Linked DNA regions of Homo sapiens: regions 1, 3 and 4 are each linked to region 2. The links are contacts of gene promoters, found by promoter capture Hi-C in blood cells and fetal thymus (Javierre and others, 2016). All regions are on one chromosome and are shown on one strand. The core of a region is centred on a gene start or on the middle of the fragment in contact, and the rest is flanking DNA. Distances in the headings are between cores, read along the strand shown. Region 1 overlaps ZHX3 (zinc fingers and homeoboxes 3). Region 2 holds the start of LPIN3 (lipin 3). Region 3 overlaps TOP1 (DNA topoisomerase I). Region 4 overlaps TOP1 (DNA topoisomerase I).

Region 1 (6,901 bases), core at 3,937-6,436, 150 kb after region 2:
GACATGGTGGCAGGCACCTGTAATCCCAGCTACTTGGGAGGCTGAGGCAGGAGAATAATTTGAACCCAGGAGGCAGAGGTTGCAGTGAACTGAGACCGCACCATTGCACTCCAGCCTGGGCAACAAGAGCGAAACTCCTTCTCAAAAAATAAAAAATCTCAGTCGAGCATGGTGGCTTGCATCTATAATCCCAGTGCTTTGGGAGGCCAAGGCAGGAGGATCACTTGAGGCCAGGAGTTTGAGACCTGCCTGGGTAACAAAGTGGGATCCTGTCTCTACAAAAAAGTAAAAAATAAGCCAGGTGTGGTGGCATGTTCCTGTAGTGCCAGCTACTCAGGTGTCTGGGGTGGGAGGATTGTTTACCAGGAGTTTGAGGTTATAGTGAGCTATACTTGCACCACTGCATTCCAGCCTGGGTGACAGCGTAAGACCCCATGTCTTAAAAAAACTTTTTTTAAGATCTCAAATCAGTAAACTAAATGTACACTTTAAAGAACTAGAAAAGAGCAAATGAAACCCAAAGTTACCAGAAGGAAGGAAATAAAGGTTAGAGCAGATATAGAGAATCAATGAAACCAAAAGTTGGTTCTTGAAAAAACAAAATTGACAAACCTTTAAATAAGAATGAAAGAGAAGACTTAAATTACTAACATCAGAAAGGAAAGAGGGGATGTTACATTTTCACATGAATATAAGATATTTTCACATGAATATGATATTATAAGAGACTACTATTAACAGTTATGTGCCAATAAATTGGGTAACCTAGATGAAATTCCTAGAAACCCGCACTCTCCCAAAATCAACTGACAAATAAATAAAAAACCAAAATATATCAATAACTGGTAAGAAGATTGTTATCAGAAACATTCCAACAGTGACAAGTCTAGGACCCCTGGTGAATTCTTCCAAATATTGAAAGAAGAATTAACACACCAGTTCTCCTCAAACTCCTCCAAAAAAATTGAAGAGGAGTAAACACTTCTTAACTCATGAGGTCACCATTACCCTGACACCAGAGCAAGACAAGGGCACTACAAGAAAAGAAATCTACAGACTAATATCTCTTATGAATATAGATACAAAAATCCCCAACAAAATAGCAAGCCAAATTCAGCAGCATACTAAAAGGATTATACCTCATGAGCAAGAGGGATCTATCCCTGCAATGCAAGGATTGCCTGGCACATGAATATCAATGTAATTCACCACATTACAAGAATAAAGAGAATAAAACACATCATCCTAATTCAAGCAGAAAGAGCATCTAACAAGTCAACTTGCTTTCATGACAATAAACACTCAGTAACTAGGAATATGACAATATGATGAAGACCATATATGAAAAGCCCACAATTAACATCATACTCAACAATGGGGAAAGACCGAAAACTTTTCCCCTGAGATCAGGAATAAAATAAAGATGCCCAGTTTTGCCACATCTATTCAAAACAGCATTGGAAGTTCTAGCCAGAGCAGTTAGGCAAAAAAAATAAATAAAAGGATCCAAGTTCGAAAGGAAGAAGTAAAATTATCTTTGTTCACAGATGACATGATCATATATGTAGAAACTTGAGGCCAGTTGTGGTAGCTCACGCCTGTAATCCCAGCACTTTGAGAGGCCAAGGCAGGTGGATCACAAGGTCAAGAGATCGAGACCACCCTGGCCAACATGATGAAACCCCGTCTCTACTAAAAATACAAAATTAGCTGGGCATGGTGGCATGTGCCTTTAGTCTCAGGGTTAGGGCTGAGGCAGGAGAATCACTTGAGCCTGGCAGGCAGAGCTTGCAGTGAGCCGAGATCATGCCACTGCACTCCAGCCTGGTGACAGAGCGAGACTCCTTCTCAAAAAAAAAAAACAAAAACAACAACAACAACAAAAAAAAAACTTGAATCCACACACACACAAAAATAGTTAAGAGCTAATAAATGAACTTGGCAAAGCTGCAGGATATAAAAACAAAAAAAATCATTTGTATTTAGCTGGGCACAGTGACATAACTGTAGTCCCACTACTTGGGAGGCTGAGGCAGGAATTCAAGGAGGCCAGCCTGGGCAACATAGTGAGACCCTATCTGTCTAAAAAAATTGGTCGTATTTTTATACACTTGCAATGAACAATCTGAAAAGAAAATTTTAAAAATGGTATCATTTACAAGGGCATCAAAAAGAAAAAGTGCTTAGGAATACATTTAACCAAGGAGGCCAAAGAAGTGTATCTTGAAAACAACAAAATGTTGCTGAAAAACATTAAAGATAACCTAAATAAATAGAAAGATATCCCATGTTCATGGATTGATATTAAGATGTAGACGTGACCCAAAGCAAACTACAGAGTCAATGTAAAATCTATCAAAAGCATAGTCGCATTTTTACAGAAATAAGAAAATCCAGGAAGACCCAACCAAAATGGCTGACTAGAGGCATTTTGTACTCGCCTCTTCCATTAAGAACAAAAATAGAGAGTAGATAATCACACTTTGAATAGATTATCCAAGACAGAACACTGGAATTCACGGAAAAGAGACAGGAAACAAAGTAAGGAAGGAAAAAGAAGCAAGGCAGCCTGTTCAGCTGGGATTGGCTGGGAACTGAGAGAGACCCCCCAGCATGGGGAAAAGGTAAGTGAGAGACCCTCAGTGGTCCACATTTCCACCATGAAAGGATTCTGCAGTTCTAGCCACGGGAGAGCTCCTCAGCCCTTGCAGTCCCTGAAACTTAACATAGGAGGTGCCAGGAGATTGTTCAATGGAACTGCTCCAGAACGGAGCTCGCACTGGGTCCCCCACACTTCCTGAGAACAAAACAGCTACAGCAAGATGCCATTTAAAGCCCACCCCCCAAAAGACTGTACACTGTCCTGGAGTCCCTGAGTGCCAGGGCTGAGGTGTAAGAGAACTGCAGACTGTTTTCCCCAGAGCTGAGGCATAAGTGACTGGGTTACTGCAGCTGGGGCTGAAGCACTACAAGGCATGTGCTCCTGTTGTTGTGGCTGAGGTACAACTATGGTGCCAGCTACCATAGCAGGGGCTGAGGCACAAGTGCCACTGGAGCTGAGTGAGGTGTGAGTGGCACATGCATTCCCCACTGGCCAGCAACCCTGTGCTCTCCAATGGAAGGTAGTAGTACAGCACTGCCACTCCCTATCCAAGCATTCTGAAGGTGGCCTAGGGATTGCCCTGCACCTGCCCACCTTGGTTGGCACCTGCACACATCATAGGGAGCCTGAAGATGAGACTGCCCAGCCTGGCTTTACACCACCACCTCCGTGGCCAGAGCACACAGTCTAGGGGCTGGGGGATTGTCCAGCCTAGTCCACCACCATTGGCACTTGAATACTCCTCTTGGGTACCTGAGGTTGGGGCTTACCCACTTGGCCACTACTACCTGTATGTACCACTTGTGGGCCTGCAGAATGGGCCGCCCAGCCTGTTGCAGCCACTGCCAACACAAGCACATATCACTTGGGACCCAGAGGGTCATTTCAACACTGTCACTGCCATCTCCCATGCCACGCCAGCTGCCCAGGGGCCTGAGAACCTGATCACATGCCTGGGAACTGCTGCCACTACTGACATCTGAGTAAGCCACCCGAAAGCCCAAGAATCAGCCTGCTTGAACCCACTAACACTGGTGCCATTGTATGCTCCTCTGAGGTCCAAAGACAGGCATGCTCTGTCCACTGCTGCTACCACTGGTGCCTGGAGAATGGCCCACCTGGCATTCCAGTCCTTAGCAAAATTTTACCATAGCTTCCACTAGTAACTACTCAGCCACTGAGGAAATCACAGATACCACTGATGCTATTTATAGCCAAAGAAATCATACAGAGACTACACTACTGCACATACCAAGAATCAAAGCCAAAGTGTCCTACCCAAACAACACCATAGATACGTCTAGGAAAAAGTCCTCCCTTACAAATGCAAATGCAAAAAATTAGAAGAAACAACTGTTACACCAGATGTGCAGATATCAACATAAGGACACAAACATGAAAAAGCAAGGAAATATGACACCTCAGAAGGAACACAATAAATTTCCTGCAATAGATTCCAATAAAAAATAAACTCACAAAATCCCAGAAAAAGAATTCAAATTATTGAGTGTAAGGAAGCTCAATGAGATGTAAGAGAATGTGAAAAAGAAAAACAATTTGGGAAATGAATGATAATTTTATCAAAGAGATATATGTCATAAAAAAGCAAATGCTGGAATAGAAGACTTCATGAAACAAAGTACAGAATACAATTGAAAGCTTCAACAATATATTAGATCAAGCAGAAAAAAAAGTCTTAGAGCTAGAACACAGGTCTTTTGACATAACTCAGAAATAAAAAAGAATAAAAAATGAGCAAAGCCTTTGTGACATATGGGACACAATAAAGCAACTACATATCTAAATTATTGGGATCCCAGAGGGTTAAGAGAAAATGAAAGAGTGAGAAAACCTATTTAATGAAATAATATTAATAGGTGAAAACTTCCCAAATCTCACAAGAGATTTAGACATCTAGATATAGGAGGCCCTGATAGCCTCTAAATGGATACAGTGCAAAAAGGTATTCTCTATGGCACATTATAGTCAGACTCTCTAAAGTCAGATAATTCTAAGGACAGCAAGAGAAATGTGTGTAAGCAACTATAAAGGAAGCCCCATCAGACTAACAGTGGATTTCAGCAGAAACCTTACAGATCAGGAGAAAATGAGATAATATGTTGACAGGGCTGAAGGGGAAAAAAAGTAAGCCAAGGATACTATGTCTAGCAAAATTATCCTTCATAAATGAAGGAGAAATAAAGTATTTCCAAGACAGGCAAAAGCTGAGAGAATTGATCACCACTAGACTGGCCCTACAAGAAATGCTCACAAGAGTCCTAAACATGGAAGTGAAAACATGACATTTAACACTATGTAAAACACACAAAAGTATAAAACTCACTGGCAAAGCAAACACACAGATGAGGAAAAGACTCAAATGCTACCACTACAGAAAACTACCAGAGTACAATGCCAAACAAAAGAAAAAGGAAAAAAATATATAAAACAACTAGAAAACAACAGTATAACAATAACAAAACCTCACATATCAATAATCCTTGGCTGGGCATGGTGGCTCATGCCTGTAATTCCAGCACTTTGGGAGGTCAAGGTGGGCAGATCACCTGAGGTCAGGAGCTTGAGACCAGCCTGGCCAACATGGTGAAACCCTATCTCTAAAAATACAAAATTAGCCAGGCATGGTGGCACATGCCTGTAATCCTAGCTACTCAGGAGGCTGAGGCAGGAGAATTGCTTGAACCCAGGAAGCAGAGGTTGCAGTGAGCCGAGATTGCACCCCTGTGCTTCCACCTGGGCTACAAGATTGCACCCCTGTGCTTCCGCCTGGGCTACAAGAGCGAAACTCTGTCTCAAAAAATTATAATGCAAGGATGGTTTAACATACACCATTCAGTTAATGCAATACATCACATCAACAGAATGAAGAGCAAAAATCGTGTGGTCATCTCAATAAACAGAAAAAGCATTTGATAAAATTCAACATTGCTTCATGATAAAAAAAAAACACTCAGAAAACTGCATAGAAAGAAGATAGTAAAGGCCATAAATAAACCCACAGCTAGCATCATACTGAATGGGGAAAAGCTGAAAATCCTTCTTCTGAAAACTGGAACATGACAAGGATGCCCACTTTCACCGCTCCTATTCAGCATAGTACTGGAAGTTCTAGCCAGAGAAATCAGGCAAGAGAAAGAAAAGGCATCCAAATTGGAAAAGAGAAAAATTGTCCCTTTTTGCAGATGACATGATCTGATACTTAGAAAAACCAAAAATGCTCCACCAAAACTCTTAAAGCTGGTAAGCAAATTCAGCACAGTGGCAGGATATAAAGTTAACGTACAAAAATCAGAGTTTCTATACACCAATAATAAAATAGCTGAAAAAGAAATCAAGAAGGTAATCTGATTTACAATAGCTACCAAAAATAAAAAAAGATACTTACGAATAAATTTAATCAAGGAAGTGAAAGATCTCTGCAAGGAAAACTGTAAAACACTGATGAAAGAAACTGAAGAGGACACAAATGGAAAGACATCCCAAGCTTATGGATTGGAAAAATTAATATTAAAATGGCCACACTGTCCAAAGCAATCTACAGATTCAATGCAATTGCTATCAAAATACCAATGTGATTTTTTCACAGGAGTAGAAAAAAACCCTAAAATTTGTACAGAACCACGAAAGAGCTAAAATAGTCAAAGCAATCCTAAGCAAAAAGAACAAAGCTGTAGGCATCACATTACCTGACTTCAAAATATATCACAAGGCTATAGTAACCAAAACAACATGGTATTGGTATAAAAATAGACCCACAGACCAAAGGAAAAGAAAATAGAACCCAGAAATAAAGCCACATATTTACAGCCAGCTGATTTTCAACAAAGGTGCCAAGAACATGCAATGAGGAAAGGACACCCTCTTCAATAAATGATGCTGGGAAAATTAGATATCCATAAGCAAAAGAATAAAACTGGACCTGTATCTCTCACCATATACAAAAGTTAAGACAGATTAAAGATTTAAATATAAGACCTTGAATTATGAAACTACTAGAAGAAAACAGTGCAGAACACTTCAGGACATTGGTCTGAGCAACGATTTTATGGCTAAGACCTCAAAAACACAACTAAAACAAAAATAGACAAAGGGAACTATATTAAAAATCTTCTGCATAGCAAAGGAAATAATCAGCACAGAGACAATATGTTGAGTGGGAGAAAATATTTGCAAAACTATTCATCCAACAAAGGACTAATATCTAGAATATATAAGGAATTCAACAAAAAATCATATTAAAAAGTGGGCAAAAGGTGGGGCACAGAGGCTAACACCTAT
Region 2 (6,271 bases), core at 1,379-3,878:
CTAGATGGGACATTTCCACTTTGGTTTCTCCCTACCTAATGCCAAACTCTGAATACAGGTCTGGGGAGACAGAGTGGTGACAGACACTTGGTGGGCAGACCTCTAAACCACTGTGCCCAGGAAAAGCAGAGAGGACTCCAGAGGCTTCCAGGAATTAAGGAGCAAGCATGGGGAGGGGCAGAGCCGGGGTTGGGGCAAAGGTCCATCCAGCTGGAGGCCCAAGCCTGAGCTTTCTGCCCTATTAAGCCCTAGTGCAGTTTCTCAGCTTCAGCATTACTGTCCTTTGGGGCCAGATAATTCTTTGCTGGGGGGTGGGTGGGTGCACTGTAGGATATTCAGCAGCATCCCTGGTCTCTGCCCATTAGATGCCAGTAGCACTTCATCCCCCGCAGCTCCAGGTTGTGACAGCCAAATTGTCTTCAGACATTTTTAAATGTCTCCTGGGGGACAAAATTGCCCCCAGCTGAGAACCACGATCTAGTAGAAAGGGCCGAATAGCAGAGATGGCACCCGGGGTCCTACTCGGATCCAGCCCTGGAGTATTCTCAGGCAAGTAACTGGCTGGCCTCAGTTTCCCCTTCTGTGAACCAAGGCCTCAGTTTTTTAGACCCATCTCCCTCAGATCTAATGTCACGGGAGTCCAGAATTCTCTCCTCTCTCTGTTCCCCCCACTTCACCAATGGATGTCCCCCACATCTGCCTGCTCGGCATTTTGGGGGCCTTCTGTGAGCCCCCCACATCTGCCTGCTCAGCATTTTGGGGGCTTCCAGTGAGCCCCCCCACATCTGCCTGCTCAGCATTTTGGGGGCCTTCTGTGAGCCCGCCTCTGTCTTCACCTATCCCTTAGGCACCCCCTTTTCCCAGGACCCAGCTCTACCTCCTTGTTCTTTTCCAGACAGAGGAGAGCTCTGCTTGGCTCCCCTCTATCACCCTCCACCCACAAACTAACATGTCTAAAATCAGCCACTTCACTCCTCACACCTTCCCAGGAAGCCGAATACCCCTTAGGACTAGTCACTACCCCTCTCTCCCTCCCTAGCCCTCTGAATCTTCTCCCCCAATTTCCTGCTCATCCAGCCCCTCCTTTCTCCAGCTGTCCTAGGTTAAGACTTTATAACCAGATGCCCAGATCACGGGTGGCCACAGGACATTAGGAGAAAAGGCACCAGATTATCTGGGTGCTGATCCCCACTCCGCCATTTGCTAGCTGTGACCATGGGCAAGTGACTTCATCTCTCTGACCCTCAGTCTCAGCCTCCAAAATGGGAATAACATCAGGCACGTGTGAGTAACTAATGACTTTGTGTAAAGCCCTGGAATGCAATAAAAACCTGTATGTACACCTATCAGCAGCAGCATCATGACAGCCCCACTCATGCAGGCTGGTCCTGTGGGCACTGCAGGTCATACTCTGATGAACTGCCCCTGCCAGCAGTTGAGAGTTTGGACTTCTTTTATTTATTTATTTTTTTGAGATGGAGTCTTGCCCTGTCACCCAGACTGGAGTGCGGTGGCATGATTTTGGCTCACTGCAAGCTCCGCCTGCTGGGTTCAAGCAATTCTCCTGCCTCAGCCTCCCGAGTAGCTGGGACTACAGGCGTGTGCCACCACACCCGGCTAATTTTTTGTATTTTTAGTGGAGACGGGGTTTCACCGTGTTAGGATGGTCTCGATCTCCTGACCTCATGATCCACCCGCCTCAGTCTCCAAAGTGCTGGGATTACAGGCGTGAGCCACCGCGCCCAGCGGAGTTTGGACTTCTTAACTTGGCACTCAAGGCCATGCACAATGGTGGCACCACTATTTGCAAAACGAGCATGTGCACTCCACGTAGGCCTCACACCCCACCTTGGGGATGTTCACAGGCCTTCCAGGCTAGACTACAACTCTAGCACAGGGAAGCCAGAGCAAGCTGCCCTAGGACTAGGCTCTCAGCCCTCGGGGCTCCCAGGTTTGGGTGGATGAAGGGTGTGGCTCTCCACCGAGGACCAGAGGGAGCAGGAGAGTAAGCACTCCTAGTGCCCCAGTAGAGAGAAAGCGCCACCCCAGCCCCCAGCAGCTACAGCATCTGATCTGCCCAGTCTCAGGGCAAGCAGGGCAAGGGCCAGTCACTGTTTTGCAACTGAGGACACTGGGTACCAGAGAAAGTGGCTGTCCTCCTCAAGGTCACACAGTCAGGCTGGGGTAAAGCTGGGCCAGCCTCCCCTGGGAGGTTTCGACGTCTCCTCTCCAGACTCTACGTTCTGGGTGTCCAGGGGGCCTGCAGCCGCTGGGCCAGGGAAAAAGGGACAAAATGAGGCCAGTCCCTCCACCCCTGCGTCCCCATCTTACAGCTAGGGGTGGACCCAGGCCCGCGGACAGGAAGGAAGGAATGTAGGATGGCAGGACAGATGGGCAGGGCGGGAGGGGAGAGGGTCATCTCTTCTCCCCCCGAGTTGGGCCCTACCTGGGGAGCTGCCCACTGGAGCTCCTGGACTCAGAGCCGCCGCCTCTACCTACGTGCACAGGCTCCACAGGTGAGTGTCTTCGGCCCTCAGTCACTTGGCGCTTCCGGGTCCTCTAAGACAGGGTGAGAGCACGGCTCCACTCCTTCTACGATCCTAGTGCGGCCTCCACAGGCCCCAATCTGCCCAGGCTCCACTCCCTGGAAAGACCCCGCCCCTGCTCCGATCCCCGCCCAGGGCGCCCTTTGGCCTCGGAGGCGGGGGCGGGGCCAGACTTCATGCCCCGCCCACCAGACCCCGCCCCAAGTCCCTGTGCCACCGCCTGCCCCACCTCCAGAAAAGTGTGGATTTCGGAACGGGGCGGACCTAGCTCCTCCCAGATTTGCTTCCAGCTTGCTGTGTGATCTTGGGTGAATTCCTTCCTCAATTTGATCCCATTTCCTGTTTTGTCAAGGGGGAAAGCCGCCTTGCAGGATTTTAGAGATGACATGAAATGACTTTGCGCGGCTCCTGGCGCTCAAACGTCCCCTCCTGGGGGCAGCTTTTCCTGAACCCACCCGTATCTCCCAGACTGGACAGGCCCCTCGCGTCATCTGTTCGCATAGCCCACAGTTGTAATTTCATATTTGCTTGAATGACTACTTGATTAATGTATATCTCTTCATTTAAATTTGAACTCTGAGAGCAGGTCACGTACATCCTTACACTCCAGCGCTTATCAGTACCTCGCCTGACAAACAGCAGGCGCTCCATAAATGCCCGCACCTTCATTCCATCCCTGGGACGTTCTGGTCGAGCGGCAGCGGGCTCAATACTGACACTGGCCAGCAGGGGGCAGGCGGTGATCAGCCTTCTGGCCCAGCCGCGCTCCCTCCCTGTCTGCAGGCACTGCGGGAGGGGACAGGTGAGCCCAGGTGCGCCGAGGCACGCGGAAGGTGCATTTACTCTCGTGCCTTGGGCAAGGCCCGGGCCGGGAACGGCTTTTTCCTCTTGGATCTGTGGCTCGCGGCTTTCCTGGACCAAAGACCTTTCCGACGCCCTATGGCCCCTGCAAAGAAGCTGCCCTGAGAAGGGCCTGGAGATGAAGTAATTTGTTCTAAAAGAGAGAGGGCACCGAGGAAAGGCTTGGCGGAGCAGCAACGGCGACGAGCCAGGCTTAGAAACGACTGGGCGGTGAGGAGGAGAGGTAGCTGCCATTATTCTGACTCAGGGTGACAGAACCTGTTTGGAAGTGACTGGCCTCAGTTGTCCTCATTTTGGCAGAAGTCATTTAGTATCAGTCCTGATCCCAGGTAGTGTCTGGCTGCTATCTCAGAAGAGCCCTGTTGGGAGCAGAGCTATGTCAAGGTGGCCAGGAGGGCAGCGTCATACATACCATTTTCTGTAACATCAGGAAATCCCTGAAGGGAGCCCGAGAAGGAAGGAAGGAGAGGTCACAGGTTGGGGCTACAGATGCCGAAATCAATTTACCTCTTTGAGCCTCAATTTCATCGGCAAAGGTGGTGATAAAAGCTACCTTGCAGGATTCTATTGTGAGGATTTACAGGATGAATTAAATAAGTGGTTCTCAACCTTGACTGTGTGTTAGAATCACTGTGCCCTAGACGAATACTGATGCCCCGGATACTGGGAGTTTAAAAACCTCTCCAGTTGGTTGTAATGTACAAACAAGGCTGAGAACTGCTGATCCAAATTAAATGCAGAGCACAGCGCCAGGGCACACACTAGGCATTCAGGAATGTTTATCACATATTTATTTTTATTTAAAAAATTTTTGTGTCACACATTTTTAAAGATGGAGCACAAATTGTTTTCATTGTTCATTGTTAGAGGAAAAAAAGTTGATATAAAGGTTGTTGCAGAAATTGCATTTGCGGCTGGGGTGAGGTGGCTTACGCCTGCAATCCCAGCACTTTGGGAGGCAGAGGTGGGCGGATCGTCTGAGGTCAGGAGTTGGAGACCAGCCTGGCCAACACGGTGAAACCCCATCTCTGTTTTTTTGTTTTTGTTTTTGTTTTGAGATGAAGTCTCGCTCTGTCACTCAGGCTGGAGTGCAGTGGCACCATCTCTGCTCACTGCAAGCTCCACTTTCCGGGTTCACGCCATTCTCCTGCCTCAGCCTCCTGAGTAGCTGGGACTACAGGGGCCCATCCCCATGCCCAGCTAATTTTTTGTATTTTTAGTAGAGACAGGGTTTCACTGTGTTAGCCAGGATGGTCTCGATCTCCTGACCTCGTGATCCACCCACCTCAGCCTCCCAAAGTGTTGGGATTACAGGCGTTAGCCACTGCGCTCGGTCCCCCGTCTCTATTAAAAATACAAAAAAAAAAAAAATTAGCCAGGCATGGTGGTGCACAGCTGTAGTCTCAGCTACTCAGGAGGCTGAGGCAGGAGAATCACTTGAACCGAGGAGGTGGAGGTTGCAGTGAGCTGAGATGGCGCCTCTGTACTCCACCCTGGGTGACAGAGCAAGACATTGTCTCAAAAAAAAAAAAAAAGAAAAAGAAAAATTGCATTTCTGACAGGCTCGTTTCTGGAACTCTCAATCATCTGGGATTTGGTGATGAGGGTAGGAGAAGAAAGGCAGATAGAACAGCCTCTGCTAGTATGACTTGTTCTAACACTGAATGGAACTGAATAAGGCAGAGACTGTCCCACTCTAGCTTGTGGTTGACATCACCATCTCCAGGGCTTTCTCTGAGGGTGCAAGCAGCATGGACACTTGTGTTTGCCCATTTCTGGGGTTGAAGGTGGAGGCCATTTTTTCCTCTGCTTGGGTATACTCATCGGATGAGCCTATATCACTGGCAGCTGTTTGTTTCTTCATTAATCCAAGAATGCAGGTGGTACTTCCTTCTTTACAGAATTTGGTAGCTTATGTGTTTTATTGTTTTTTTGTTTTGTTTTAGACAGGGTCTGGCTCTGTCACCCAGGATGGAGTGCAGTGGCACAATCACAGCTCACTGCACCCTTGACCTCCTGGGCTCAAGCAATTCTCCTACTTCAGCCTCTCGAGGAGCTGGGACCACAGGCATGCATGATCACACCTGGCTTTTTTTTTTTTTTTTTTTTTTTTTTAGAGACAGAGTCTCGCTCTGTTGCCCAGGCTGGAGTGTAGTGGCACAATCTCGGCTTATTGCAACCTCCGCCTCCCAGGTTCAAGCGATTATTTGCTTCAGCCTCATGAGTAGCTGGGATTACAGGTGCCTGCCACCATGCCTGGCTAATTTTTGTATTTTTAGGAGAGATAGAGTTTTGCCATCTTAGCCAGGCTGGTCTTGAACTCTTGACCTCATGATCCACCCGCCTGGGCCTCCCAAAGTGCTGGTATTACAGGCGTGAGCCACGGTGCCCAGCCACATCTAGCTAATTTTTAAAAATTTTTTGTAGGGATGGGTGTCTCACTATGTCACCCAGGCTGGTCCCGAACTCCTGGGCTCAAGCAATCCTCTTGTCTCTGCCTCTCAAAGTCCTGGGATGAGTCATTCCATTCACCCTATGTGCTTTGTTAATTTACAGACCCAGTGGTTAGTGACTGTGCCCCTCTACTTTCTTGCTGGGTGAACCTGGCATGAGGTGAGAGGGCCCCCTTACCCAGGCCTGTAGTTGTGATCACTCAGAGCAGCAATACTGGCTTCTGGGAGCAGCTCATCAATCACTCCTGGTGGCTTTGTTGAAGGTGGGAAGGGAGGCAGTGGACCCTGGGGCTGGGTCTCCCACTGCATGCAGGACTAAGGGCTGGGGGGCAGGCAACTGGTGTCTAGTTGGGATTGCCAGATTCAGCAAATAAAAATAAAGGACACTCATGTAAATCTGAATTTCAGATG
Region 3 (6,321 bases), core at 1,567-4,066, 250 kb after region 2:
AGAAAATCTGAATAGGGCCTATGGGTTTTATATACCTGATTTAGTTAATAAAGCAATGAAAGAAAAGTACTTGGGAATTTAATCCACTTTTCAAACAAATGCTTTTGACAGTACTCTTAGTGCCAATTTCCATTCTTTCTTAAAAATCCAACTTTACAACATCACCTCGAACCAATCCATGCTATACTAAGAGCATTTGGCTATACTTAAAATGAGGTTAACTATAATTCCACCACCTTACTATTACACAGGTATTAATAATTCACCAAGGCTGCCCACATTCTTTATAGAAAACTAAAATTTAACCAGAAATCCATTTATTTCAAAACTCAGAAGACATCTTATCTCATAATGATATGCAATCTGACTTTGCAGGGGTGTAGAGAACTGTAGCACAATATTGAAACAGTTATAATAGAAAGAACCCACTTTGGACGCCATTAACTTAAAAGGCCAACAGGTGGCGCAGCTGCCCCCATCAACCCCCAAGCTTCTGCTTTGGAAGAAAGACACTTCGGGGAAGATAGGCTGTGTATTAAAAGATTCCCTGAACTTCTTTAGAAAACTGTAACATGTTTCCAATATAAAGGAAAACATTAAGTCATTAGGAATAAAATAAATGAAATAAAATGGCAAGAAAAAAATGTAAACTGTTAACACCATTTAAAAAAAAATGTGGCTGAGCATGGTGGTTCACATCTGTAATCCCAGCACTTTAGGAGGCGGTGCAAGGATCACTTCAGGTCAGGAGTTCCAGACCAGCTTGACCAACATGGTAAAACCCTGTCTCTATTAAAAATACAAAACTTAGGTGTGGTGGCACGTGCCTGTTAATTTCAGCTACTTGGGAGGCTGAGGCATGAGAATCGTTTGAACCTTGGAGGTGGAGGCTGCAGTGAGCCAAGATTGTGCCACTGCACTCCAGCCTGGGTGACAGAGTGTGACTCTGTCTCAAATAAATAAATATAAAAATAAATTTAAAAAAAATGAGATTTTGGGCTGTTTTACTGAATTCTGTCCTAATAGAGGGAGAAGCAACTGTGACTCCTCCTATTTTAGATGAGCTGTCAAAAGATGAAATGATGGCTCCCTGCATCAGAGTAGTGGGAGGATGACTGGAAGGTTCCTGGCAATGTTAACACTTTGTGGAAAAGGCTGAGCTCCAGGAAAAGGAAACTGCTGAATCAAAGCTGTAAACTGAAGGTCCTCAGAGAAGGCAGTAATTCACTGCTTCAGCTAGCCCATGCCCCACCTCCCTGGCAAGTTCTAAAGGAGTCTAAGAATTCTCCTCCCCAGAGAGTAGGCAGCACTTACTGTATCAGTTTGAAGTAAAGTCAAATATGACTTCTTGACTTACTGCAGAGTAAGAGTTCACACAATCAAAGAGAAGAAATCCCAGCAGAGGACCAGCTGAGAAAATGCTGGAGCCCTAAAGCAGGATCCTGTAAAGGAGGACTGGGCAAGAATGGGAGGAAAGGACTATGGCAACCTGTGAACTAGACCAGGCCTCTGCTTCCTATCTTGAAAAGGAAGAGAAACCACAGGACTAGGGAATCTAGCTTTCCCTCCCATCACTTTGAACCTCAAAGTGAGGCTTTACCAGCTGAGCATCCTAAAGCTCTTGGTAAGTCCAGACCAGGCCTACGGAATACCTACGCTTTGAGATGGTGCTCTTCAAGGTTCTAGGCCCTTTCTCTTAATTAGGAGTTTTGGCTTTGAGTTATAGTTAAGAGTCTCCAGGAATGACCAGCGTGAGGGCTGAAAGAACTGTCTTAGGCTCTCTGGTCAACAGGTCAAAATGTTTACATAACATAAGCATTTGCCTCTGAGATTATGGAGTCCTGTTAGGCTGCAAACTCCCCAAGATCAGGGTCTAAGTCAGTAGTACTATCCACTGCTGGGTCTTGGTGTCTGACCACAAATACATTCAATAAATATGTTTTATTTATTTATTTATTATTTTATTTTTTGAGACAGGGTCTCACTCTGTCACACAGGCTGGAGGGGAGTGGCACGATCTAGGCTCACTGCAATCTCTGCCTCCTGGACTCAAGCAATCCTCCCACCTTAGCCTCCCGAGTAGCTGGGACTACAGGCGTGCACCACCACACTTGGCTAATAAATATGGCATTTTAAAAAACAAATTTCAGCTTGCCAAGTTTGGCACTTTCTTCAGTTGCAGACCCAGCCCTTTAGTGTAAACTACTACCTAGGCCTACAAGCATTGGTGGACCTAAGGCCACTACTGGTGGGAAGAGAGATGCACCAGAATGCCTGAGTGTTCACCACTGATGCTTTTCAGCAGTTATCCTGCCCAGTGTTTCTCAAAGTTTGGTCAGCAGACCACTTGGTTCAGAAGTACTCAATCCCACCCCAGAACTTTTTCTTTTCAGTGCGGGCGGTGGGATGGGTGAGAAGAAAACAGTGGGGGGCTGAGGGTGGGAAAAATGGTGGAGAAATGGGGTGGTGAAATAACAGTGGCCAAAAGACGGTGGTAAGACAAGTGGAGGTGGAAGAGGAATGCTGGGGAAAGGAGAAGGGGGACTGTCAGGAAAGGGGACAGAAGAGGGAAGGATGGTTGGGAAAGGGGAAAGAAGAAGAGGGACGGTGGGGAAAGGGAAAAGAAGCCCACCCCACAACTGTTAAATGGGCTCAGATCCACTTTGGTGAGTCATAAGCACATAAGGGTATGAGGAACAATGCTCTAACCATTTCTGGATAAAACTCATGGAATGAAGAAAATCAGTTATTACCATCTACATACTGCTACACTGCCAACAGGAGGCATGTCAAAGGCTACCCTCAAATCCTTCAAACCCAAGGATACAAATACCAACGACAGATAAGGGACAATTCTGAGGGTTCTAAGAGACCCAGGCAGGGCATTTCTTTAAAGCAGCTCATCAGACTTGATTGCACATATATCAAAGGCATAGTGTTATGCTACACAGAATAGGTGACAGATGCCTACCAGCCCTATCTAGAGATGGATGGCAGACTATTAATCCTCGACCATATACTAATACTGTTTCTAGTGATGAGCAGCTTGTCCGATTGCATTGTTATATTGCTAACATAAAATACTACCATTCAAGTGAGGCTTTTCTAATAACTCTTGCGAAGAGTTGCTCCCTAGAAATGAAGTTCAGATCAAAACCTTCAGCTTGTGGACCACACACTGTTAGCCATGTTGACAAACCTTTTTTGGACTATGTAGGGAAGACATGAATAGCCCCTTTTCCATGGCACTTTTTCAGCAGCAAATGAGCCTTTAAGAGTTAACACCTGATGCCCCTTCCTCAAAATTGCATGGCAATAAAACAAAATGAAATAAAAAGGATTATCTATTACATAGGATCCTTCCTTGTTTTCTATCCCTAAATAGAAGCAGATTTCTTTTCCTGGCCAAGAATCAAGAACCTTGAAACAACTCACCATCATAATAAAACTTGACATTCTCTGGAAGAGGCTCATATGGTGGGGCAAATACTGGACCTTTATGTTCTAGGAATTTCCACTTGATGCCTTCAGGATAGCGCTCTTCTTCCCACCTTTAAAAGACAAAGCACAGCCTCATTTAGTGATCGCCTTGTCTAACATGGGGATCATCACTGATTAAATGCCAAATAATTATCCGCTCAACTGATTAGTGCTCTGGAATGACTTCTGGGCCTCACATTCAAGGCCTGGATCAAAAGAACCAGTGTCTCTCATTTTGAAAAAGCCAACGCTCACAAGTAAGATGAAATACTGTGGTGAATAAAGGAAAATACATTTCAACAGCTCAGTTTAAGAATACTGGACAGAAGAGATCAACAATGAAGGAGCTCAGTAACAAGTGAGGGACTTGAAAATGTAAACAGTTGTTTTACCACAATGGCATACATGACAGAGGGATTGTTTACATTGTTTGTAAGGAAAAGGCCTCCTCAGAGTGGTGACGTCAGATGGAAGGTAGAGGAGAAAACAACCCTATGAGAAAGGACATAAAGGAAGACGACTAGGAAATGATAGCTTAACTGGGGCATGTTGAGTTTAAGGTACTTACGCATTACCTGGAACTATCTAGCAAACACTGATAAGTGAATCTAAAGCTCAGTGGGAACAACTTTTTGAAAATGTATTTTTAAAATGGTCGAACATAAGAAAAAAATGAGTAATACAATAAACACCATATACGCCTGTAATCCCAGCACTTTGGGAGGCCGAGGCGGGCAGATCACGAGGTCAGGAGGTCGTGATCCAGGTCAGGAGCCTGGGCAATGTGGTGAAACTCCGTCTCTACTAAAAATACAAAAATTAGCTGGGCATGGTGGCGCGCACCTGTAGTCCCAGCTGCTCAGGAGGCTGAGGCACGAGAATTGCTTGAACCCAGGAGGCAGAGGTTGCAGTGAGCCAAGATTGTGCCACTGCACTCCAGCCTGGGCAACAGAGTGAGACTCCATCTCAAAAAAAAAAAAAAAAAAAAAAGGTTAATAATTTGCTACATTTCCTATTTTGGCCGAACCATTTTCAAAGTTGGTTGCAGATTTGATACTTCACCACTAAATATTTCAGCAAGTATCTCTATAAAAATAATATTCTTCCACATAACCACAAAACTATTATCACATCTAACAAAATAATCTCCTAGTATAATTCTAATTCCCAGTCCATATTAAAAACTTCCCTATTTTATCTAAATTTATTTTATAGACCAGGATCCAACTCAGGCTCACAAATTGCAACTGGCTATGCCTCAAGTTTCTTTTACTCGAATAGATAACTAACTTACTACCCTCATATTTACTTTCCAAGTACAATATTTTATTTATTATTTTATTATCAATCATTCAGCCATGGAACAAGTCCAATATTTTAAACAAAGTTCAGAAACATCAAATAAAAATTACATGTATCAAACCATATTGTAACAATGGTATTACTATAAAACCAAAGTCAACATATATGGTCAAATGATTTACAACAAGATGCTTAAGACCATTCAATGGAGAAAGAACAGTTTTTTCAACAATAGTGTTGGCAAAATAATCAAACTGGGTCTTTACATTATACACAAAAATTAATTCAAAATGGATCAAAGACCTAAATATAAGAGCAAAAATATAAAACTCTTAGAAGACAACATAGGGGAAAAGCTTCACAATATTGGATTTGACAGTGATTTATTGGATATGACACGTAAAACACAGGTAACAAAAAGAATAAATGAATTGCAGCTGGGCAGAGTACCTCACACCTGTAATCTCCGCACTTTGGGAGGCTGGGGTGGGCGGATCACTTGAGGACAAGAGTTCGAGACCAGCCTGGCCAACATGGCGAGACCCCCCCGTCTCTACTAAAAATACAAAAATTATCCAGGCATGGGGGCATACGCCTGTAATCCCAGCTACTCAGGAGACTGAGACACAAGAATCGTTTGAACCTGGGAGGTGAAGGTTGCAGTGAGCCGAGATCACGTGACTGCACTCCAGCCTGGGCAACAGAGAGACACTCTGTCTCAATAAATAAATAAACTGAACTTCACTGAACTTAAAAACTTCTGTGCATCAAAGGACACTTCAAGAGAGTGAAAGACAACTCACAGAATAGGAGAAAATATTTGTAAATCATGTATCTGATAAAGGGTTAACATACAAAATATATAAACAGCTCCTACATCTCAATAAACAACCCAATTAAAAAAATGGGCAAAGTCTCAGTCTTAAGGTGGAGGGGAAAAAAAAGATAAAATTAAAAATAGGGGCTGGGCGCAGTGGCTCACGCCTGTAATCCCAATACTTTGGGAGGCCAAAGCGGGCGGAGGGATCACTTGAGGTCAGGAGTTCGAGACCAGCCTGGCCAACATGGCAAAACTCTGTATCTATTAAAAATTCAAAAAATTAGCCAGGCGTGGTGGTGCACGCCTGTAATCTCAGCTACTCAGGAGGCTGAGGCATGAGAATCACTTGAACCTGGGAGGCAGATGTTGCAGTGAGCCAAGATTGCGCCACTGCACTCCAGCCTGGGCGACAGAGCAAGACTCCATCTCAAAAACAAAAAAAAACACGTGGGGGTGGGGCAAAGAACTTGAATGGTCATTTTTCTAAAGAAGATATACAAGTGGCCAATAAGCACCTGCAAAAATATGCAACATCAATAATCATTAGGAAAATACCAATCAAAACCACAATGAGATACCATTCATACTCATAAGGATGGCAATAAAACAAAAAATAACAAGTGTTGGTGAAGGTGTAGGGAAGCTAGCACCCTCGTGTGGTCCTGGTAGGAACGTAAAAAGGTGCAGCCAATGTGGAAAAGATAGTATGGCAGTTCCTC
Region 4 (6,268 bases), core at 2,983-5,482, 230 kb after region 2:
TCCAGTGATCCTCCTGTCTCAGCCTTCTGAATAGCTGGGTCTACAGGCATGTGCCATGTTGCCTGTCTCAAGTCACTTTTGCTGGTGCCCAGCAAAGTGCAAAGCACACAAAAAAGCAGTCAACCCATGCTTGTTGAATAATGGAAAACAAGTCAGACAGTACAGGTACATTAACTTACTCGTTTCTCAACAGGGACCTTGTTATAGTATCTGATGGAGTCCTTCCCGAGGAAGTCAAACTCTACCACATATTCCTGACCATCCAACTCTGGGTGTAGATTGATGTGCTCCACACGAAGTGAGCAGCAGCCCACAGTGTCCGCTGTTTCTCCTTCCTCCTTTTCATTGCCTGCTCTCAGAGCAAGCTGCCCAGGAAAGAAAGAAAAGATGAGCATGAATGGAAGAGACATGATCCTTACACAATTTCGTTCTGTGTTTTTTTTTTTTTTTTTTTTGAGACAGTCTCGCTCTGTCGCCAGGCTAGAGTGCAATGGCGCAATTTTGGCTCACTGCAAGCTCCGTCTCCCGGGTTCATGCCATTCTCCTGCCTCAGCCTCCGAAGTAGCTGGGACTACAGGCGCCCGCCACCACGCCAATTTTTATTTTTTTTTTTTTTTTTGTATTTTTAGTAGAGATGGGGTTTCACCACATTGGCCAGGATGGTCTCTTGACCTCGTGTTCCACCTGCCTTGGCCTCCCAAAGTGCTGGGATTACAGGCGTGAGCCACTGCGCCCAGCCTTTTGACCCTTATGCAATTTCTAGGCATCCAAAACAGAAGCCTCCCAATTCTGTTTGAAGCCACAGCATCAGTCAGCATGGCCTGGGAACTCTGGATTCTGCAGTGTTACTTCCTCCCCCACTCACTATGAAATCTATAGGGATGTTAAATATTCATGCTCCTTTTCTTTCTATTCTGTCCTCTGAAATAGGGATGGAGAAAAGGAAAAAAAAAATTAAATAAGGCAGCAAATGAGGGAGTGCTGCTACTCTGGGCAATCAAACTCAAAAAGCTAGTGTGAATTTTGAGACAATTCAGAACTTATGTTAAAATACAAGACTGGGGGAAAAACATGAACTTTTTTTTCTTCTCGTGAGTACCAAGAAATTGATCTCCTCTAGAGCGTGGTCTTTAAAACTATATAATGGTGATACCTGCATGGTTTATTTAAACAATTTTATAAGTTATAACCAACTTTCTAAAGGAATGAAATAGAGTTAAAAAAAGATCAGAATCTACTGCTCACAGTAAGGCTAAGCATTGTTTTGTGCAACTTTTGATTCAGTTTTACATACAAATATATGTATGTTGAGTTGTGATATACAGTATGTGGCACAGGGCCTGGGGCAGAGCAGAAACTCCCTTTGTTAAGCTCAACACTAGACAATGCCGATGGGAAGATGCTCTCACCTTGTCGATGAAGTACAGGGCTACAGCTCTCTGCCGGACTTTCATCTCTTTGGACTTCCAGTCTTCTCGATACTGGTTCCGGATCTTGTCCACACATTTTTTCAGCCGCCGAGCAGTCTCGTATTTCTGCCAGTCCTTCTCACCCTGTAAAGACCCAAACCCAAATGTAGATTACTTTGGGACAGTGTAGTAAAGACAGACTTTGAATATAGCCAGGCAAGGTGGCGCAAGCCTATAATCCCAGCTAGCTAATAGGGAGGCTAAGACACAAGAATTGCTTGAACGCAGGAGGCAGAGGTTGCAGTGAGCCAAGATCACGCCACTGCACTCCACCATGGGTGACAAAGCAAGACTTTGAACAAAAGAGCAGGAACTTGACCTTAAGCAAACGTAAAAAAGAATAGTACTGAAGAGAGAGTTTGGCACATTTAACCTGTTAAGAATGCACATTGTCCCATCTCACTGCCAAGCACAACTGACTTCTAAGGCTTTCCCAGAAGAAAGTTTCTAGCTCTAATTCTCTAAAATGTTTATGTTCCTGGGAAAAACCCACATGGGATGTCCCAAAAACTAACTTCTGTCAACACAAAGCACATAATCACCCCCATTCCCACATCAATTTCACAGCCTTGCTGCCAACTCTGTGACCCAATAGCAGTTTTCTACCAGGACTGAATTCCATTAAATCTAAGTGAATTCCATTAAATTACAGTGTGGTGGAGCTGTCAAAGAAGCAGAACCAAAGACTACAACATGTAATTACTAAGGACACAATGACTTCCAGGAACAGCCATAATTATTCACCATTTTCTAACTTCTGCATTTAAAAGCATTTCTTGATGAGATTGAGAGAAACTATGTTTCTGGGAAGCCTTTAAAAAAATAAGAGCTTTTGGTGGAAGGGTTAAAAGTTGATTCTAAACCCAATGAAGGGTTACTAAAACCATGTGAAAACTGAATCTAAACAATAGTGAAGAAGACTTCTGCTACCAAGCTGAATGAAAATAGACTCACAAGCAAGAGCCAATTATGACAAGTGAGAAGGGGAAAAAAATTCAAGAAATCCAGAAGCAGGGAATTACATAAAACAGCATAAAACAGACTAGATGACATAAACATAGAGAAGGAATTTAAGAATCCAAGAATCTCTGCTCTTAATTTCCCCACCCGCAACAAAGGAAAGTGGTAGTGATTTCTGCCCACACATGCCTGGTTCCTGACTATGACGTGGACCCGTGGTCCTTGAGACATAAGACCTGTGGTGAAGATAACCAGCCTTTCAGCCTGGGCAACAGAGCATGACCCTATCAAAAAAAAAAAAAAGGGGGCGGGGGGTGGGGTGGGGGCGCAACCAGCCTTCTGGGTGTGCAGAAGCATGAGATACCTAGAGCAAGAATGTCTTCCACTTCTCAATCCTAAAAGTACTCAGAAATTAAAAGCTTACACAGTTAAGCTAAGGAGTCATCTGCACTCTCACATCATGTGTACCAGTGTTATGCACTTGTTTGGCTACAAGAGTTTCAGTAACTACCTGCTATCATGGGTGGGTGATTTAGTAGTTGGTGACACAGAAAAAATACCTAAGTCTTAGTACATTTTGACATTTAACAGGGTGAATAAGAAAAGGTGAGATATAAGCTGTCCTCATGCACAAGTCAGTAGTAAATCTCCATGACAACTGTTCTTACACATGCACGGAAAAATTGGACACAAAAGGCTCACCTTCAACAGTAGAGTACCCAACTCTGGAGTGGCCTCTTTCCCCTCACTCTAGTGCACATGGACTACCAAAGCCTGTCTCAAAGTCCCCTAGGGTTACGTTTGCTCAGTTCCTTAGTCACACCACTGGAATGTAAGGTAGGAGTCAGGTAAACGAGATTTAGAAAAACCCAACCCGCACGTCATTCACAGGATACTACCAGACCAACTTTTCTTCACAGGCTGGCTGGGCTTCTGCACCAAGGATCTAGGATTCTCTCAAATAAGCTGAGATGGAGGTGGAGGCAGAAGCCACCCCGCTTAGATCCAGCAGGAGATGGCTGGCCTCCAAGAAGTATGCTTGTCCCTGCAGTGTTCAATGCCCTGAACAAGCTTTCTTGACTACTTTTAGAAAATAAACTATCCACCTAGGTCTTCCAGGCAAGGTCTCACAAAACCATCTCAAGAAGACAAGGAATCCACTGGAGAAGGCTGCCTTTGACCACCTCTCCTCTTTCCCTAATTCAATCACACTTCAGTAATGGGTAAAAATCTAATTTAACTGATTGTAGATGACATTCTTTGGATGACTTTTTAAAACTAGTAGGCCCACTATATTGTCTCTCTAATATAGCTGCTATCCATTCAGCAGAGTGGTTGGGTGGAATCAGGATCTGGATTCAAGATTACAAAGTTGGGGGTGAGAAGGCAAATTGGATTCTGTTTTCTAGTAACTTTCTCAGACGTTTGTAATGGGGAAGAGGACATTTGCCAGTATTCTTACATGACTATTTCCCTTCTCAGTCAATTTCCACCAAGCAACCACTGATCCTTCAATCTGATTACTATCATCATGGATAAATTTTGCCTAGTCTAGATTATATAAATAGAATCATACAATATAGACTCCTCTGTCTGCCTTTTTAACTTTTTTTTTTCCCTCTGAGACAGCGTCTCGCTCTGTCACCAGGCTGGAGTACAGTGATGCAATCTCGGCTCAGTGCAACCTCTACCCCTCAGGTTCAAGCGATTCCCATGTCTCAGCCTCCTGAATAGCTGAGATTACAGGTGTGCGCCACCCTCGGCTAATTTTTGTATTTTTTTGTAGAGACGGTGTTTCGCCATGTTGGCCAGGCTGGTCTCGAACTCCTGACCTGAAGTGATCCACCCGCCTTGGCCTCCCAGAGTGCTTGGATTACAGGCATGCACCAACCGCACCTGGCCCTTAACCATGTTTTTAAGATTCATCCATGTTGTTGAATACATAAGTAGTTCCCTTCTTAACTGCTGATAAATATAGTATATTCTATGACTATACCATAATGTGTTATCTATTCTGGGATGTTTCCAGTTTTGCACTCTTATGAATAGAGCACTGCTATGAACATTCTTGTACAAGTTTTTTCATGGATAAATGTTTTTATTTCACTTGAGGTAAAAATACCTAGAACTGGAATTCGTATCTCCCTGTGGTTAAATCTTCACTCCACTGATAATTAGTGATGTCGAGCACTCTTTCATTTGCTTATTTATTGACCATTCCTGTATCTTCTTTTGTATAGTATATGTTCAAGTCTTTTGCTCTTTTTATTATGCGGATGGGATGTCTGTTTTTTTATTATGGAGCTACAGGAATTCTTTGTATAGTCTGGATATAAGCCCTTTCAGATAAACATGTTGCAAATATTTTCTTTTAGTCTGTAAATTCTGTATTTATTTTAGCAGTGTCTTTTGTTGAACATAAATTTTTAATTTTAATGAAGTCCATTTAGTCAATTGTTTCTCTTGTTGGTGTTTTTCTGTCCTAAGGAATCTACTCTAAGGTCATATTCAACCATGATATCACCTACAAGCTTTAATATTTTAGTCTTCACACTTAGGTCTATGTTAGTCTTACTAATAAATAGATTTAAAACGTTTTGAATTTTATACCAAGATGCCAGGCTCAGAATATATATATATTTTTAATGAGCTTGTGTCTTATTTTCTCTAATAGAACTCACCAAAATGAGAGCTTCCCAAGATGAATATTGTAAAGATACTTTCCTTCACATTTAGCCCTTTAATCCCTAGGTGGTTACATATAAAAGGTTGTAAGCACATACATTTTTGGAACCCCACAGAATTCTAGACTCTAAAGAGAAAAAAGGCAGAAGTGTGTATTTGGCACTGAGAGTATTTTAACAGGACTAAACGCAATACGATGTCAACATTGATCCTAAAGTTTGCTGTACTGCATTTGAAAGAAAAATCATGATGATAAATTCTGTTTGTAAGGTTAAGGCTGGTTTGAAAAAACCTGAATTTTACTAAGGGCTACTTTCCCTGGGTTGTGAGAGCAGGTAATGCTTCCAAACTTGGCAGTGGATTGTACTTAGCAGTGAGTACCCATAAGCAGCCTTTTTGTAAACTCCTAGATTATGCAGGATAAGAAACTCCTGGGTTATCTGGAATCAGAGTTTCTTTGGTTGAAACTGCAGGTTCCAGAAGGCTAGCTGTCATTCCAATGCTATTTCAGATCCTACGGGCACCAGGCACAGAGTGGGAGAGAAAGAATGGAAATATGCTTGCAAGATGTCTGTGTAATCAAAATCCTGGGGGGAAAAGCAAAAACAAACTGGGATGAACATAAAAAGATATGAATGAGTTCAGGACAACCTTTTCAGTACCTAGAGCAAGTGTTATTGTGGTTCTCAAAAATCCCAATCCTTTCAATGACCTTTGAGGCTAGAAGTAGTGTAACTGTGACAGTGACTGCAAGTAGGCCAATCCAAGTTTCCAGAAAGGGGGCAAAGACAGGATACATAAAAAGAACACACTTCAGCTGTTCTACAACTTTGTGCTTTTTACCCCTGAATGATTCCTTTAATTTTTTAAATTGTCGAAAATTCATAGTTCACATCATGCTTGTGCTACATTTCTTGATAGAGCACAGATGGGATACAATGATACACTATTATGTGAGGGAATTAAGTAAGTAAAATATAGACACAAGAGTAAACAAAGACGACTCTTAGAATAGGAGACATCTCTGGAGGCTGAGCAGAAATGTGTAGAACAAAAGCATCATGATGGCAGCTTCCCATATAGCCGACCTAAAGCCCTCCATGAAGTAAAACCACCAGTTACCACCCTTCAACATTCTATTACAAAAACATATC

The links. The method cuts DNA at HindIII sites, captures the fragments that hold promoters and counts their contacts. A CHiCAGO score of 5 or more calls a contact.
Region 1: a contact is called between a fragment that was not itself captured here and the fragment with the promoter of LPIN3 in region 2, in 15 of 17 cell types (activated CD4 T cells, total B cells, non-activated CD4 T cells and 12 more). The highest score is 9.4, in activated CD4 T cells.
Region 3: a contact is called between a fragment that was not itself captured here and the fragment with the promoter of LPIN3 in region 2, in 8 of 17 cell types (activated CD4 T cells, non-activated CD4 T cells, naive CD4 T cells and 5 more). The highest score is 12.9, in activated CD4 T cells.
Region 4: a contact is called between a fragment that was not itself captured here and the fragment with the promoter of LPIN3 in region 2, in 13 of 17 cell types (activated CD4 T cells, non-activated CD4 T cells, naive CD8 T cells and 10 more). The highest score is 16.7, in activated CD4 T cells.

Annotation. Positions count from the first base shown.
Region 1 is chr20:41,188,675-41,195,575 of GRCh38, reverse strand. The region is part of intron 3 of ZHX3 (zinc fingers and homeoboxes 3); the gene reads left to right. Among named protein-coding and RNA genes, the nearest start is that of MIR6871, 23 kb to the right of the region's middle. The HindIII fragment of the contact is 1,846 bases long and covers 4,264-6,109 here.
Region 2 is chr20:41,337,178-41,343,448 of GRCh38, reverse strand. It overlaps LPIN3 (lipin 3), which reads right to left and starts at 2,628. Exons shown (of 20, transcript NM_022896.3): 1 at 2,447-2,628. RefSeq lists a silencer at 2,647-2,806 and an enhancer at 2,967-3,016. The HindIII fragment of the contact is 12,951 bases long and covers 1-6,271 here.
Region 3 is chr20:41,089,702-41,096,022 of GRCh38, reverse strand. TOP1 (DNA topoisomerase I) reads right to left here. Exons shown (of 21, transcript NM_003286.4): 9 at 3,436-3,551. Among named protein-coding and RNA genes, the nearest start is that of PLCG1, 45 kb to the left of the region's middle. The HindIII fragment of the contact is 4,648 bases long and covers 493-5,140 here.
Region 4 is chr20:41,108,067-41,114,334 of GRCh38, reverse strand. It overlaps TOP1 (DNA topoisomerase I), which reads right to left. Exons shown (of 21, transcript NM_003286.4): 14 at 1,410-1,553; 15 at 180-365. All of the region lies in intron 4 of PLCG1-AS1 (PLCG1 antisense RNA 1), which reads left to right. Among named protein-coding and RNA genes, the nearest start is that of PLCG1, 26 kb to the left of the region's middle. RefSeq lists a silencer at 2,859-2,938. The HindIII fragment of the contact is 1,460 bases long and covers 3,503-4,962 here.